Linked DNA regions of Homo sapiens: all the other regions are linked to region 1. The links are contacts of gene promoters, found by promoter capture Hi-C in human tissues and cell types (Jung and others, 2019). All regions are on one chromosome and are shown on one strand. Each heading gives the region's core, a stretch centred on a gene start or on the middle of the fragment in contact. The rest is flanking DNA. Distances are from core to core; before and after follow the strand shown.

Region 1 (2,700 bases), core at 62-2,561:
ACTCATAGCAAAAATATTGTGCTACACTTTCAGGATTTAAGAAAAGGTTTCTTAGTAAATGCTACTAATTGAATCCTGAGTAGGTAAGAATTATTCCCATTTTCAAGTGAGGCTCAGGTGTCGGGTAAATTCCTTGTAAATCAGAGCTAATCTGGAAAAAACCTGGATTAAGACTCAGGAATCTTTCCATTAAATTAGCCATCACTATCAATTTCCTTTTAAAACATGTTGCTTTTCTTTAAAACATGTTGCACAGGTAATCATTATCCCTTTTGACGTTTCCAACAATTTAAGGCAGGAGTTATCTCCATTTGATGCATCTGAAGGTGTCCCTGTGAGAAGGAAAGTGAGCTGCCAGAAGTTGGAATCAGCACTATAGAGTTCAAAGGTGAGACAGACCTGTCTGACCCCAAATCTCGTGATCTCCCATCACATACTTCAGCTTCCTAAACTAGTAATTAAGAAGCTAACTGACCTGTTTAAAAAAAAAAAAAAGAAAGAAAGAAAAAACCTCAGCAAAGTGAGGAAAGAACATAAACTGTTAAGAAGCACACAAAACCTGACAAAAGCAGTCGCTCCTGAAAGACGGTCTCCTGATGTATTCTATAGCATTTGCCTTTCCAGACCGAGCCGGGAGAGACACCGGAAGCCAAGTGTTCTGATTCCTGTTGCCGGTTCAGTCACTGCTGCTCTTAGCCTAACCCGGCTTACCTTATAGACCACCCCAGCGATGGTCGTGCCAGTTTTCCGGACCTTTGGAAGCTTGTATCCCCTCTTTGCAAAATCGGCTTCCAAGACGGCATTCCTAAGAGCAAATGAGAGAATCAAGTGTTGAAGGGCAGGACCACATCGCACAGCACTGGCATGAAAAGTGCCTAACAGAGAACTCAGGAAAGCTGCTACTTGTTTTCACGCCCATCTGTTTAATGAATCCTCCCACCATCAGCACTGTTCTCCCGTTTTCCAACGAAGACAGTCTTACAAAGGGGCCGTGACGTGCCTTAGGAGACGGAGATAAACGGTGGCCGAGTGCGCTGGGAAGGTGGGAGAGCAGACCCGGCTTCAGGAGAAACCCACGCCCAGGCCCTGATTCCCCTGAGTCACACTAGCCGCGGGCCACAGGCCCCGCCATGAATTCTTCCCTCAGAATTCTCGTATCACACCTTGGCCCAGCTCCCACCCGAGCACCGCACTCTTCTCCCTCCCTGAACCAAGCCCCAAGCAAGGCGGCACCTGCGGCAGTTATCAAAAGAGAAGCCTCCAACTGGTGGAGCATACACCGACACAGCCGCCATCTTCCCAAGAAAGCAGTTCCGGGTCGGAGGCGGGTGCAAACAAAAAGAGCCGAGCACTTCCGGCGTCGCTGGCAACGGGGGCTGAAGGGGCGGGGCAAACGCCGCACTAGAACGATTGATCTTAGAGATTCTGGTTCCTAGAGAGGCCAGAGATGTTTGAAGTATATCGCCCCAAGTGGCACGGAGGAGAAAGTGACACCCGGAACCGGGAAAGGACTTGTCCAAGGTGAACGCACCAGCGACCAGGTCTCCTGCCGCTCAGACTGGACTTGTTTCTACCGTTAATTTGGTTCTGCGGTGCTTCAGAGACAGACAGACCCAAGTCCCAGGCACAGCCCCACCACCCCCTTGCGTTAAGCAAGTCTCTTCAACTCTCTGAATCTGTTTCCTCCGCTATCAGATGGAGATTACAACCTAGCTCAAAAGGCTGCTGTAGAATGGCCATTAAGTCTGTGAAAAGAGGCTCAACATGATTAGTCATAGGGTGAATGCAAAGCACGACCACAGTGAGATCCCACTTCGCACCCGCTAGGATGGCCATAAACAAAAAGACAGAAAAGCGCAAGGGTTGCGAGAGTGTGGAGAAATTGGAACCCGAATACACGGCTGGTGAGAATGCAAAACGGTGCGGCTGCTCCGGAAAACAATTTGGCAGTTCCCCAAAAAGTATTATCCTCTTAGATACGCACCCGAGAGGGTTGAAGACATGTATTCACAAAAACTTCTACAAAGGTGAGGTAGAAGGCAGGCCTCCATTCAGAGATGGGGCTGAGATACCTGACCAAATTGAGGACTAGCTAAAACAGGGCCTGGACGGAAGCTGTCTTCCCTAAGACTCGCTCACCAGCCAGCCAAGTCAGTTTACCGTTGCCATGGCAACACTCGTGAGTTACCGCCCCTTTCCATGGCAGTGGCACCATAAACCAAAAGTTACTACCCCTTCCCTAGAAATGCCTGCATAAACCACCCCTTAATCTGCATGTAATTAAAAGTGTGTATAAATATGACAGCAAAACTGCCCTGACACTCTGCCTAAGAGGGTAACCCTGCTCTGCAGGAGCAGTCATGGAGCTGTAACGCCGCCACTTCAATAAAGCCGTTTTCTTCTGCCTCTAACTTGCCCTTGAATTCTTTCTTGGGCAAAGCCAAGAACCCTTGTGGGCTCAGCCGCACTTTGGGGCTTACCTGCCCTGCGTCAAAAGGGGTCTCATTGGCTGGGCGCGGTGTCTCACGCCTGTAATCCCAGCACTTTGGGAGGCCGAGGTGGGCGGATCATGAGGTCAGGAGATTGAGACCATCCTGGCTAACACGGTGAAACTCCGTCTTTACTAAAAATACAAAAACTTAGCCAGACGTGGTGGTGGGCACCTGTAGTCCCAGCTAGTCAGGAGGCCGAGGCAGGAGA
Region 2 (2,700 bases), core at 99-2,598, 300 kb after region 1:
ACCTCTGTGCTTCCAGAATAGACCACTAGATGGAGACTTAAAAACTGAAGGAGGAGGAGAGAGCGCTTATGCCCATCTAGAAAGCCTATTAGTTGGTTTATGACTACACGAAAAATTAAACTAATGCAGATTCAACAAATAAAAGGGAATATGCCCAAAATGAGAAATTAAGGAAAAATAAAAGTCTTCTGGAGGCTGGGTGTAATGGCTCACACCTGTAATCCCAGCACTTTGGGAGGCCGAGGCAAGGGGACCACTTGAGGCCAGGAGCTGGAGACCGGACTGGTCAACAGGGCGAAACCCCTTCTCTACTAAAAATACAAAAATTAGCCAGGTAGGTGACACACGCCTGTAGTCCCAGCTACTCAGGAGGCTAAGGCACAAGAATCGCCTGAACCTGGGAGGCGAAGGATGCAGTGAGCCAAGATCACGCCACTGCACTCCAGCCTGGGCGACAGAACAAGACCCTGTCTCAAAAAAAAAAAAAAGTCTTTTGAAGGCAGTATGGCACCAAGATTAAAACATAGGTTTTGGCTCTTCTACACATAATCACAAAAATCCATTAACAAAATATTACCAAGTTGAATTCAGCAACACTGGAAAATTATAATACATCACTGACCACATGAGGTCTATTTCAGCATTAAAAGGCTAGCCTGAGTTTCAAAATTCAATCAGTGTAATTCACCATATTAAGTCTAAACAATCTAGATGGAGAATTGGTATGAAAACATAACTGATTTACAGATTAGTAATTAATTATTAATCTGAAAACAACACCACTCATGATAAAAAAAACTCTTAGCAAACTAGCAACAGCATTTTCTCAAGTTGATAAAGGGCATCTACAAAAACCCTACAGCTTCCTGATTTCAAAATTTACTACAAAGCTACAGTAATCAAAACAGTCTGGTATTACCATAATGACAGACATAGACCAATGGAATAAAATAGGGAGCCCAGTACTAAACCCTCATATATATGGTCAAACAATTTTTGTCAAGGTTACCAAGACCACTCAATGGAGAAAGAATAATCACATGGTACTGATAAAATAATATCCACATGAGAAAAAAATGAAGCTGGCCTTTACCTTTATACCATACACAAAAATTAACTCAAAATCGATCAAAGACTTAAACATAAGCCCTAAACTATAAAACTTTTAGAAAAAAAAAACAGGAGATAGCTTCATGACAATGGGTTTGGCAATGGTTTATTGGATATGATACAAAAAGCATAGGCAACAAAAGAAAAAACTGCTCGATAACATGAAAATGTAAAACTTTTGTGCATCGACGGACACAACAGAATGAAAAAGCAACCTGCAGAATGGATGAAAATATTTGCAAATCATGTATCTGTTAAGAGATTAATATACAGAACACAGAAAGAACTCGTATAACTGAAACAAAAACCCATAAAGAATCCAATTAAATAGGCAAAAGACCTCAATAAACATTTCTCCAAAGAAGACACACAAATGGTCAATAAGCACATGAAAAGATGCTCAATATCACTAATCATTAGGGAAATGCAAATCAAAGCCACAATGAGATATTGTCTCACAACCATTAGGAGAGCTACTATCAAAAACACAGTAAATAAGTGTTGGTGAGGATGTGGAGAAATTGGAACCCTAGAGCACTGCTGATGAGAACGTAAAGTGGGGCGGCAGCTATGGAAAACAGTATGGTGATTCCTGAAAAATTAAAAACAGAATTACCATAGGGTCCAGCAATTCCACTTCCAGGTATACACCCCAAAGAATTGAAAGTAGGGACTTGAAGAGAGACATCCATGTATACTCATGTTTACAGCAGCATTATTCACAATAACCAAATGGTGAAAGCAACCCAAGTGTCCATCAATAGGTGAATGGATCAACAAAATGTGGTATATACATACAATGCAATCTTATTCAGCCTCAAAAATGAAGGAAATTCTAACACTATACAACATAGATAAACTTTAGGCACATTATGCTAAGGGAAATAAGCCAGTTACAAAAGGACAAAACTGTATGATTCCACTTAAATGAGGTACCTAGAGTAGACAAATTCATAGAGACAAAAAGTAGAATGGTGGTTACCAGGAGCAGGGGAGAATGGTTATTGTTAATGGGTACAGAGCTTCAGTTTTGCAATATGAGAAGAGTTATGTGGATGGATGCTGGTGATAGCTGCACAACCAGTGTGAATGTACTTAATGCCACTGACCAGCACATTTAAATATGGTTAAGATGGTAAATGCTACGTCATGTATATTTTACCAGAACTCTACAAAATAAAAGAAAGCCCAATAGAGGTGTCATCATACTTGATACTGAAATTGAACTCCTTCCCCCTAAGATTAAGAACAAGGTGAGAACATCACTCTCACCATTTCTATCTATCATTGTACTGGAAATCTTAGCCAGTGCAATAAGAAAAATAAATAAGTCATAAACATCAAAAAGGAAGAAGTAAACTCTCTTTATTCACAGATGTACACATAAAAAGTCCCAAGAAATTTATTTTTTAAAGTTACTAGAACTAACAAATTTAACAATGTCACAAGATACAAATACATAAAAATCAACTGCATTTATATATACTAGCAACAATTGGAAAATAAAATTTAAAAATAATATCATTTACTATAACATTAAAAAACAAAATACTTAAGGATAAAGATGTATAAGATCTCAACACTAAACTT
Region 3 (2,700 bases), core at 150-2,649, 260 kb after region 1:
TGGAACATAAGTGCTATATAAATATTAACTATTATTATCTTAATAACAGAGGTACACATGCTTTGAGGCTGCTGCACATCAAAGAAATGAATTTGGACATAAGCAACTTAATATTTTTCTTGTATTTAAGAGAGGCCCAATGGAAATATTCATATACCCATCTTCAAAAATGGGAGGAAAAAAGGCTGAAGGAATAGCAAATTACAACACAGGAACTATATAACTACTAAGTAAATGTGACCTCATCCATCCAGAAACAGGTATGAAGGAAATGTATTTTCTAGCTCCGCCTTAACCATGTAATCACTCAGATAAAGGAGTCCTACATTCCAGAGAGATAGAGGAAAATGATTTTTCTTGCTCTTACCTTACAACAAACTGATAACCAACACAGCTAACCTTTGTGCGTTCTCACATAATTTTTAAGTGAAGAAAACATCTCTTAGGACAAAATAATCAATTCTGGAAGCTTTCTTAGAAATGCCTTCCTGCCTTATACTAGTCTTTTCTTCCCATACTCCACAAACTTCATCCCTGGGCAAGTCAGAAGAGGTATCTAAAGACGCAAAAATGCAAGCAAGTAAACATTCTTTAGAACTGAAAGGAAATCCTATGCTTGTTCTTACTTAGAAAGTTATGGAGTTAATCCTGTGGACTGGCTTATGTTGCTGACTTACAAAGCAAACAAAATACTAAATTGTATAAGCAACAAATAAAATCAGTGAATTGTAATTTATCTGTCTAAGAGTCTGTGCCTCCTACCAGACTGTAACTTCTCGAAAAAATACTTTATTCATCACCAGCATCTAGCACATTGCCTGGCACACACAGAAGGTGTTCAATAAGTGTTGACTGAATACAGTCAGAGAGCACCTCCTCCTTGTACAAGGTACTGTTAGGTGGCAGACAGCCAATAATGGTTCACTTAGGTTGATGTCAAAGATTTCTGTTTGAAATTTAAATAAAGCCAGGTCTGGCTAAAGAGCTGCAGCTGTAGTTGTACCTGCTCTCAACCCAGATTTATTCCCAATAGCAAGGCTACCCTCTTCTGCATGCCTGCTGATATTTCTCTCAAATGATGAGAAGCCACTTCCCATGTGGCCCTAGTGTGTAATTCTTTCTGCTCAACAAAGGAGGCAGTCTAGAATCTTTGGTCATAAAAATATGATGGTTAGCAACAGGAAGCAACTGCTGGGCAAGCCTGGTACACTTCCAAATGAAATCTTTCCATCTAGAATTCTCAATTGAAGGTGCCAAACTCAATCCAGAACATCTGGATTTGCTCCTCTGGCTTCAAGCGTTCTCCAAGAGAGGCTAGGAAAAAGTACGCTCTTGCCGGTACGTGTAGGTGTAATTGTATACTCAAATATTGTACTTTGGATAAGAGTCCAAGACTTGGCAAATGGATGGAATGTAGCACATGGAACTGCCTGAATAGATACCCACGCTAAGAGAAGGGTTTTCTTGCAAAATATAAACAGGCAAGGTGTGAATTGCCCCTCTGTGTCACAAGTTAGAAGAATTCACCCAGGAGAATAAGTTCTTAGGAATCAGTGGGGGAATAATGCTCAGAAGCATGTGACAGGCAAAACAGCACCATTCCCTAGGAAAACGGCAAATTTATCAAACAATAACTCTTTACTTCTCCTACCCCAATAAGATAAATATATGTGATTATAATTTGATCCATACAGAAAAAAATATTGAGCTGCAAACTCTGGCAAACAGACAGTGCTGAAATTAAACATTATGAGCTTTGGCAGCTGCACTATGTACTCTCAGATTCTTACATCATTACTCTGGTAAGGGCCCCGTACCAAGCTGGCATAGTTCTGATGTGGTCTGGAGGGAGACTTTCTTGCCTTTTATTTAAAAAAAAAAATGACCTACATATAGCCTCTTTTCATGCCACAGGGAAATAAATATTTTCCTTTCCTCCAGATTTTGTTTTAAATGACAAAGCCATACTGCCAAGTTATTAAGAAAGTGTTAGAAATTATTATGAGATTTTTAAAGGCCACTTAGTACAAGCTCTAAAAAGACTTCTAAAACAGTAGACTTCAAAAACAGGATCTCTCCTAAAGTAGTGATAATCCATTTGTGGCAATAAAGAATCAGTTTATAGAGTGATGATTACTTTCTTGTTTATATTCTGACATTGGAAGTTTAAGTATCCAGATCCTCAGTAACCTCAAATGCAAAATGAAATAGTAATGTCACCGTTTGGGACAGTTCTTCTCACAATATCAGATATATGGCAAGTCCTCAGTAAGTACTAGACAAACTTATGAACGATAGAACCTTTAAAATTCGTGACTAGAGCAATCATATACTTAACAGAGCTAAGTGGTTACCTTTACTTCACTCATATTCAAGACTGAAAAGAATTTACACATAAGCTAGTTTCAAGATCAAAACTGCGTTTGTCCCTTTCAACAACTGATACCACACAAACAAGACTTCATTCTCTATTTCCCTCCAGTGGCATCCAAGAAAAACATAAAAATTCCAAATCTCAAAAATAACAGGTTAAAGAAGAAAAAAAAAGGCCTTAGTGCTCATAAACTAGATATATAATTTGACATGTTTAGAGTGATAGGATTATGTTTCCTATCATGAAATATTTCAAATTTTCATATATGGTCAAAATAGTATAGTAACTACCAAGCTTTACTTCCAAATTATTATTACTATTTCCTT
Region 4 (2,700 bases), core at 95-2,594, 280 kb after region 1:
TGTGGGTTGTTGAGAATTTAATGAGATAAAATATACAAATCCTAGTATATAGCAGATCCCCAATATATGTTAATCTCTTACCCTTGTTAACAATTAAAATACTACTGCAAAATCAGGTATTTTACATTTTTAGAATCACAAAATAATACCATTCAAAGACATTTTCTCAGACATTCATTTGAGTCTGCTTGTACAAATTACTGCACAGTCTATCCCACAGTTCATTAGTTCTCTGCTGCACACAAATTGATTTTATAATTTAAATACTCTCGACTTGAAACCCAGAGAGGAATGTAAGAGCATCCATCAGCGGTGGTCTCACTGCTCACTGGTTCTTGGGATGTGGATGGGAGAATGAAGAAGGGCTATCAGGCCAGCCTTCAGAGGACTCCAAGGAACATTCAACGCTGTCGGTGAGTTTGGGATTTGAAAAAACCACTGACCGTTGACTGTACCTTGGGGTCCTTACAGACGACACTACATTTCCTGAAGCAAAAGAGCAAGCTGTACCTTCACATGTCACATGAGTTCACCAGAAATGGTCCTGCAATCCCCCAAATGTGGTCCAGTGAATTTTATTCCTACTGCTCACTGTTCCTTGCTTTCTGTTGTGTGTTTTATTATTATTTGTTTGTTTTTACAAAAAAAGTGTTTCATTTCAACAAGGTAAGGAGCAGTCCATGATGATATCTAATGTACCTACATGTCTCCTAGATATGCACCATTCTGGTGAGAAACAGGACGTAGCAAGTAAAAATTTATTAAAAATACGTATTTTGTTTTGGAATAAAATCCAGTTAAATAATTACTCCCATTTCTCCCACATCCTCTCAAAATTTTTAATTAGGGGCAAGGGGAGGATTTAATAAGCAAAAATAGCACAAAATTATCCAATTGTGACAGTTCTTATCACATTTCACTTTGAATTATAGTTAATATGGTTAATTTTTGATATCCCAGTTAGAGCATGAGCTATTGCCTTACTAGTGCCCACATATCCCCACATATGCTTATTTAAATGTTTGCTAAATTCAAGCAAAAACTTAGCCCTGGAGTCAGTCAGATCTGGGATGAATCTTGGCTCAAGCCCTTAACTAGTTATTTGACCCCCTAAGCAAGTGTCTCAGTTTTCTCACATATAAAACAGAGGCTAAGAGTACCTATCATGGAGTTTTGAGACTCAATGAGATAATATATAAGGTGCTTTGTACCATTACTAGCCCACAGCAAATGCTCAATATATGTAAGCTGTTATTATTAAACTCCAACATAATCTGCTAATTTACCTCAAAAAAGCACTCATACTTCTCAGTTCAAAACAAAGAGGAAAAGCAGGTCCCTCAGCTGTGGTTTACAGGTACTAATATGCAAGCACTGCCTGTGTGGCGCAGTGCTACCTGTGAGGTTCTCCAAGCACTCCTTCCTTCTCTGAACCACAGCTTCCTCATCTGCAATAACCTCCCAGCTCCAATGTCAATGTTATGGACACCTGTGTGGGCCCTCAATCATGCAGATGGCTGGTTACTAAGGGAGAAGCCAGACACACAGACTTCAAAGAACTGAGATGGAAAAGAAGAGCCAGGAGTCAGCCAGGGAGGGCAAAGGCAACCCCACCAACTGAAAACACTGATGGCTGCACTCAACATTCATTGCTGTCGGTGGGTTTGAGTCTGAATCAACTCACTGATCAATGAATGCAAACTGCGGACCAAACAACCCAAAGGAAGCAAAAGCATGTGCAGAGAGTCGCCTGAGTGCAGCAGCTACTGCTGTGAGTGGGAGCTGCTACTATTTCCAAAACACTAGCTAAAGCTTTTCTTGTTCTCCTTGGTTCTAACATGGAGTAAGTTCTCTAAATTCCTAGTACTTTTCTCCTTTTTCAATAGTCTAGATTTAAGGAAATGATATTTTATAGGAAGAATTAAATACATATCTGGATATCACATCACATTTTAAAAATCAGTACATTCAGAATTTCTAAACAGAATCATATGCTTATTATTTAGAAATTCAAATACAAAAATATACAAAGTAAAAATTGAAAATCCCTTCAATCATCATCTGCAATCCATTTCCTCGGAGGAAAACATGTATAATTATAATAAACTTATTAAGATAATAAATATCATAACTAGAATTTATTTTATATCCTTGAAGACCTTTATCCATACATACACAGATAAATAGCTGTAATTTTGCATGTTTTGGGGGGAGAGTGGCTTAGACAAAAATAAGCTCATTTTTACCTATTGTTCTATAATCTATTTTGTTATTCAGCTATATATCATAGACTTCCACAACAGTCTTTTATGTACTCGTCATTCTTTTAAATGGCTATATAGTATGACTTAATATGAATGTTCTGGTTATTATTCAGATGTACATCAATATTCTCTTTTGACAAAAACTATGAGGCTCATTCATTCTAACCTTTGCAAACCATGTCCCTCAAACAGGAAAAACACCTAAGTGAGATAGAAGATGTACATTTTTCTTAACAAAAAATTTAAATGTAGTATCAACTCTCTAAATCCTGTAACATGAGATAAGCCACTAAATCCCATGTTAAAGAAAGAAAAACAAGGCCCTTGGTCATGAATAATTTATCATACACTTAAGTCTAAGAAGAAGCAGATTCTCATAGCAAAAGTCAAATAAGACAGTAAGAGAAGAGTCTTGTCAAATTAGCCTTGACAATTA
Region 5 (2,700 bases), core at 124-2,623, 320 kb after region 1:
TCCCAATATAGAAATTACTGAGAATATTACCCACATACGCTAAGTACAAATTTTTTGGTTTGTTTTTGAGACAGGGTCTTGCTCTGTGTCACCTAGGCTGGAATGCAGTGGTGTGATCATGGCTCAACTGCAGCCTCCTCCTCCTTAAGCAATCCTCCCACCTCACCTTCTCAAGTAGGTGGGACCACAAGCACATGCCACCACACCTGGATAATTTTTAAATTTTCTTTGCAGAGACGGGGCTCCCTATGTTGCCCAGGCTGGTCTCAAACTCCTGATCCTGGGCTCAAATGATCCTCCCGCTTTGGCCTCCCAAAGTGCTGGAATTACAGGCATGAGCCATCATGCCCTGCCAGTAAGTACAATTTTTTAGTCTTTTTTTTTTTTTTTTTTGGTGACTCCTATTCTATACTGATGTATAAAATTATGTCTCAATGTCTGTTCATTCTCATGGAATAGAGAGGTCTATAAATTGCCATATCTAGCTAGGAATTTTATGAAGAAATGTTTAATGAGCTGGTATTACTTAACCCAGAAAGAAGAATTCAACAATAATTTTTCTGAGAATATCAAGGACCTTTCTCAGAAAATGGGCATTAACCATTTTCAATTGCTACTAGGTGCAGAAAAAGAGAATACATTTGGGTACTAAATGCTAAACTAGAGGTTTATAAAATGTCCTTTCAAATATTTCCTAACACACTGATAACATACAAGAACAAGAGCTATACTTATTTATCTGTGTATCCCTAGAGTCTAGAGAACTGGGTGTGGAGCAGAGAGAACACTCAGTGCTTAACAAACTGAGTTATCAACTATCTAGCATGTTTTATGTGTAGTTGTCTGAAAGGTTACAGGGCATCTCAATGTCCTTCCTAGTGTTCAAAAATGCTTCTAAGAAAGGACCATGGCCAGGTGCAGTGGTTCACGCCTGTAATCCTAGCACTTTGGGAGGCCAAGGCAGGCGGATCACAAGGTCAGGAGTTTGAGACAAACCTGACCAATATGGTGAAACCCCGTCTCTACTAAAAATACAAAAATTAGCCAGCCATGGTTGCGCACGCCTGTAGTCCCAGCTACTCCGGAGGCTGATGCAGAAGAATCACTTGAACCCGGGAGTCAGAGGTTGCAGTGAGCTGACATCGTGCCACTGCACTCCAGCCTGGGTGACAGAGCGAAACTCCATCTCGAAAAAAAAAAAAAAAGAAAGGACCATGACTCCAGAAAAATAACTGAATTTATCTTTTCCTCCCCTAAGCAAAGGCTACTCATAAGAGAACAGAAAACACAGCTGGACCTCGAATAACACGTTTCAACTACACAGGTCCACTTCTACGCAGACTTTTTTCAATAAAAGTTATACCAGGTGTGCCTGCCTCTCCTGCCTCCCCTTTCACCTCCTCTACCTCTTTCACCTCTGCCACTCAAGAGCAAGACCAACCCCTCTTTCTCCTCCTTCAGCATGAAGGTGGTGAGGATGAAGACCTTAACGATGATTCACTTCTATTAATGAAGAGTAAATATATTTTGTCTTCCTTATGACTTTCTTAACAACATGTTCTCTTCTCTAGTGTACTTTATTGTAACAATATAGAATATAATACATATAACATACAAAATTATGTTAATCTACTGATTATGTTATCGGCCAGGCTTCTAGTCAACAGTAAGTTATTAATAAAGTTTTTGAGGAGTCAAAAGTTATAAGTGGACTTTCAACTGTGCAGGGGGTTGTCATCCCTAACCCCCACATTGTTTAAGGGTCAACCGTACTATATACACCTATAGCTGCTGGTATACTGGGGCTATACTATCTAATACAAAACTGATTCTGAAATTTACAACTTTTAAAAAGACAAATATATTTCCCTGGTGTTTGATAAGCATCATGAGAACTATTTTGCCTAAAAATTAATAAGTATTAGTTGCAACATGGACATTTATACTAATAAGGAGGGCAGAGGCGAATATGTGAGAAGGTCCACCACCTCAGAGCTTGAATCAGCTTCACGATGATGGAAAGGTAAGCTTTATCACTGATCTCAACAGCAGACTGGTGGCAAAGAGCCAGCCGTAACAAAGTACTACAATCAGAAAAATAACTCTAGACCATCTCATGGAATCTCAATCTAAATTATCATTTGACCTTTCGGCATTATAGCAAAATAAGGTCTGTATACACTGGATACTCCCATGTCCTATTTCTAACCATTATGACTATGTGTCCCAGAATGGTGCACGCCACCACATTTAGGAAGAACTGGAAATGCAAATGATTATCTATGATGAAGACTCACATAGTCCTGAAAAGCATCATTTAATTAGACCTTGAAATGGTAACTCTCATATCTTAACCATAAGACCGTAAATGAAAATTAAACTGTACTACAAAGGTTATCAATTATAATTTCTAAACTAAGCAAAATGCTTCTTTTAAAGAAATTATTTCAAAACTATCAATACTTTAGAAGTGTTTGTGAGTATACAGTTGTCCATGTGCATAAATGCAAGTACGAATTTTTTTTTTTTTTTTGAGGTGGAGTTTTGCTCTTGTCACCCAGGCTGGAGTGCAATGGCATGTTCTTGGCTCACTGCAACCTCTACTTCCCGGGTTCAAGCGATTCTTCAGCCTCAGCCTCCCGAGTAGCTGGGACTACAGGCACCCGCCACCACGCCCGGCTGATTTTTGTATTTTTGGTA

Evidence for each region. The method cuts DNA at HindIII sites, captures the fragments that hold promoters and counts their contacts. A contact is called where the count stands out against the background at its distance.
Region 2: a contact is called between a fragment that was not itself captured here and the fragment with the promoter of PSMB7 in region 1, in 1 of the 25 tissues and cell types used here (dorsolateral prefrontal cortex).
Region 3: a fragment that was not itself captured here is called in contact with the fragment with the promoter of PSMB7 in region 1 in 1 of the 25 tissues and cell types used here (dorsolateral prefrontal cortex).
Region 4: a contact is called between a fragment that was not itself captured here and the fragment with the promoter of PSMB7 in region 1, in 2 of the 25 tissues and cell types used here (dorsolateral prefrontal cortex and mesenchymal stem cells).
Region 5: a contact is called between a fragment that was not itself captured here and the fragment with the promoter of PSMB7 in region 1, in 4 of the 25 tissues and cell types used here (dorsolateral prefrontal cortex, hippocampus, mesenchymal stem cells and 1 more).

What each region holds. Positions count from the first base shown.
Region 1 is chr9:124,414,131-124,416,830 of GRCh38, forward strand. It overlaps PSMB7 (proteasome 20S subunit beta 7), which reads right to left and starts at 1,312. Exons shown (of 8, transcript NM_002799.4): 1 at 1,234-1,312; 2 at 712-805. The coding sequence starts at 1,295. RefSeq lists an enhancer at 1,219-1,268. The HindIII fragment of the contact is 5,075 bases long and covers 47-2,700 here.
Region 2 is chr9:124,712,134-124,714,833 of GRCh38, forward strand. All of the region lies in intron 2 of NR6A1 (nuclear receptor subfamily 6 group A member 1), which reads right to left. LOC124902269 (a long non-coding RNA gene) reads right to left here. Exons shown (of 2, transcript XR_007061772.1): 2 at 1,201-1,702. Among named protein-coding and RNA genes, the nearest start is that of MIR181B2, 20 kb to the left of the region's middle. The HindIII fragment of the contact is 6,244 bases long and covers 1-2,700 here.
Region 3 is chr9:124,674,570-124,677,269 of GRCh38, forward strand. All of the region lies in intron 2 of NR6A1 (nuclear receptor subfamily 6 group A member 1), which reads right to left. The region is part of intron 1 of MIR181A2HG (MIR181A2 host gene); the gene reads left to right. Among named protein-coding and RNA genes, the nearest start is that of MIR181A2, 17 kb to the right of the region's middle. The HindIII fragment of the contact is 3,220 bases long and covers 1-2,700 here.
Region 4 is chr9:124,692,084-124,694,783 of GRCh38, forward strand. The region is part of intron 2 of NR6A1 (nuclear receptor subfamily 6 group A member 1); the gene reads right to left. The region is part of intron 1 of MIR181A2HG (MIR181A2 host gene); the gene reads left to right. It overlaps MIR181A2 (microRNA 181a-2), which reads left to right and starts at 359; the gene lies at 359-468. MIR181B2 (microRNA 181b-2) reads left to right here and starts at 1,627; the gene lies at 1,627-1,715. The HindIII fragment of the contact is 6,533 bases long and covers 1-2,700 here.
Region 5 is chr9:124,730,181-124,732,880 of GRCh38, forward strand. All of the region lies in intron 2 of NR6A1 (nuclear receptor subfamily 6 group A member 1), which reads right to left. Among named protein-coding and RNA genes, the nearest start is that of MIR181B2, 38 kb to the left of the region's middle. The HindIII fragment of the contact is 7,392 bases long and covers 1-2,700 here.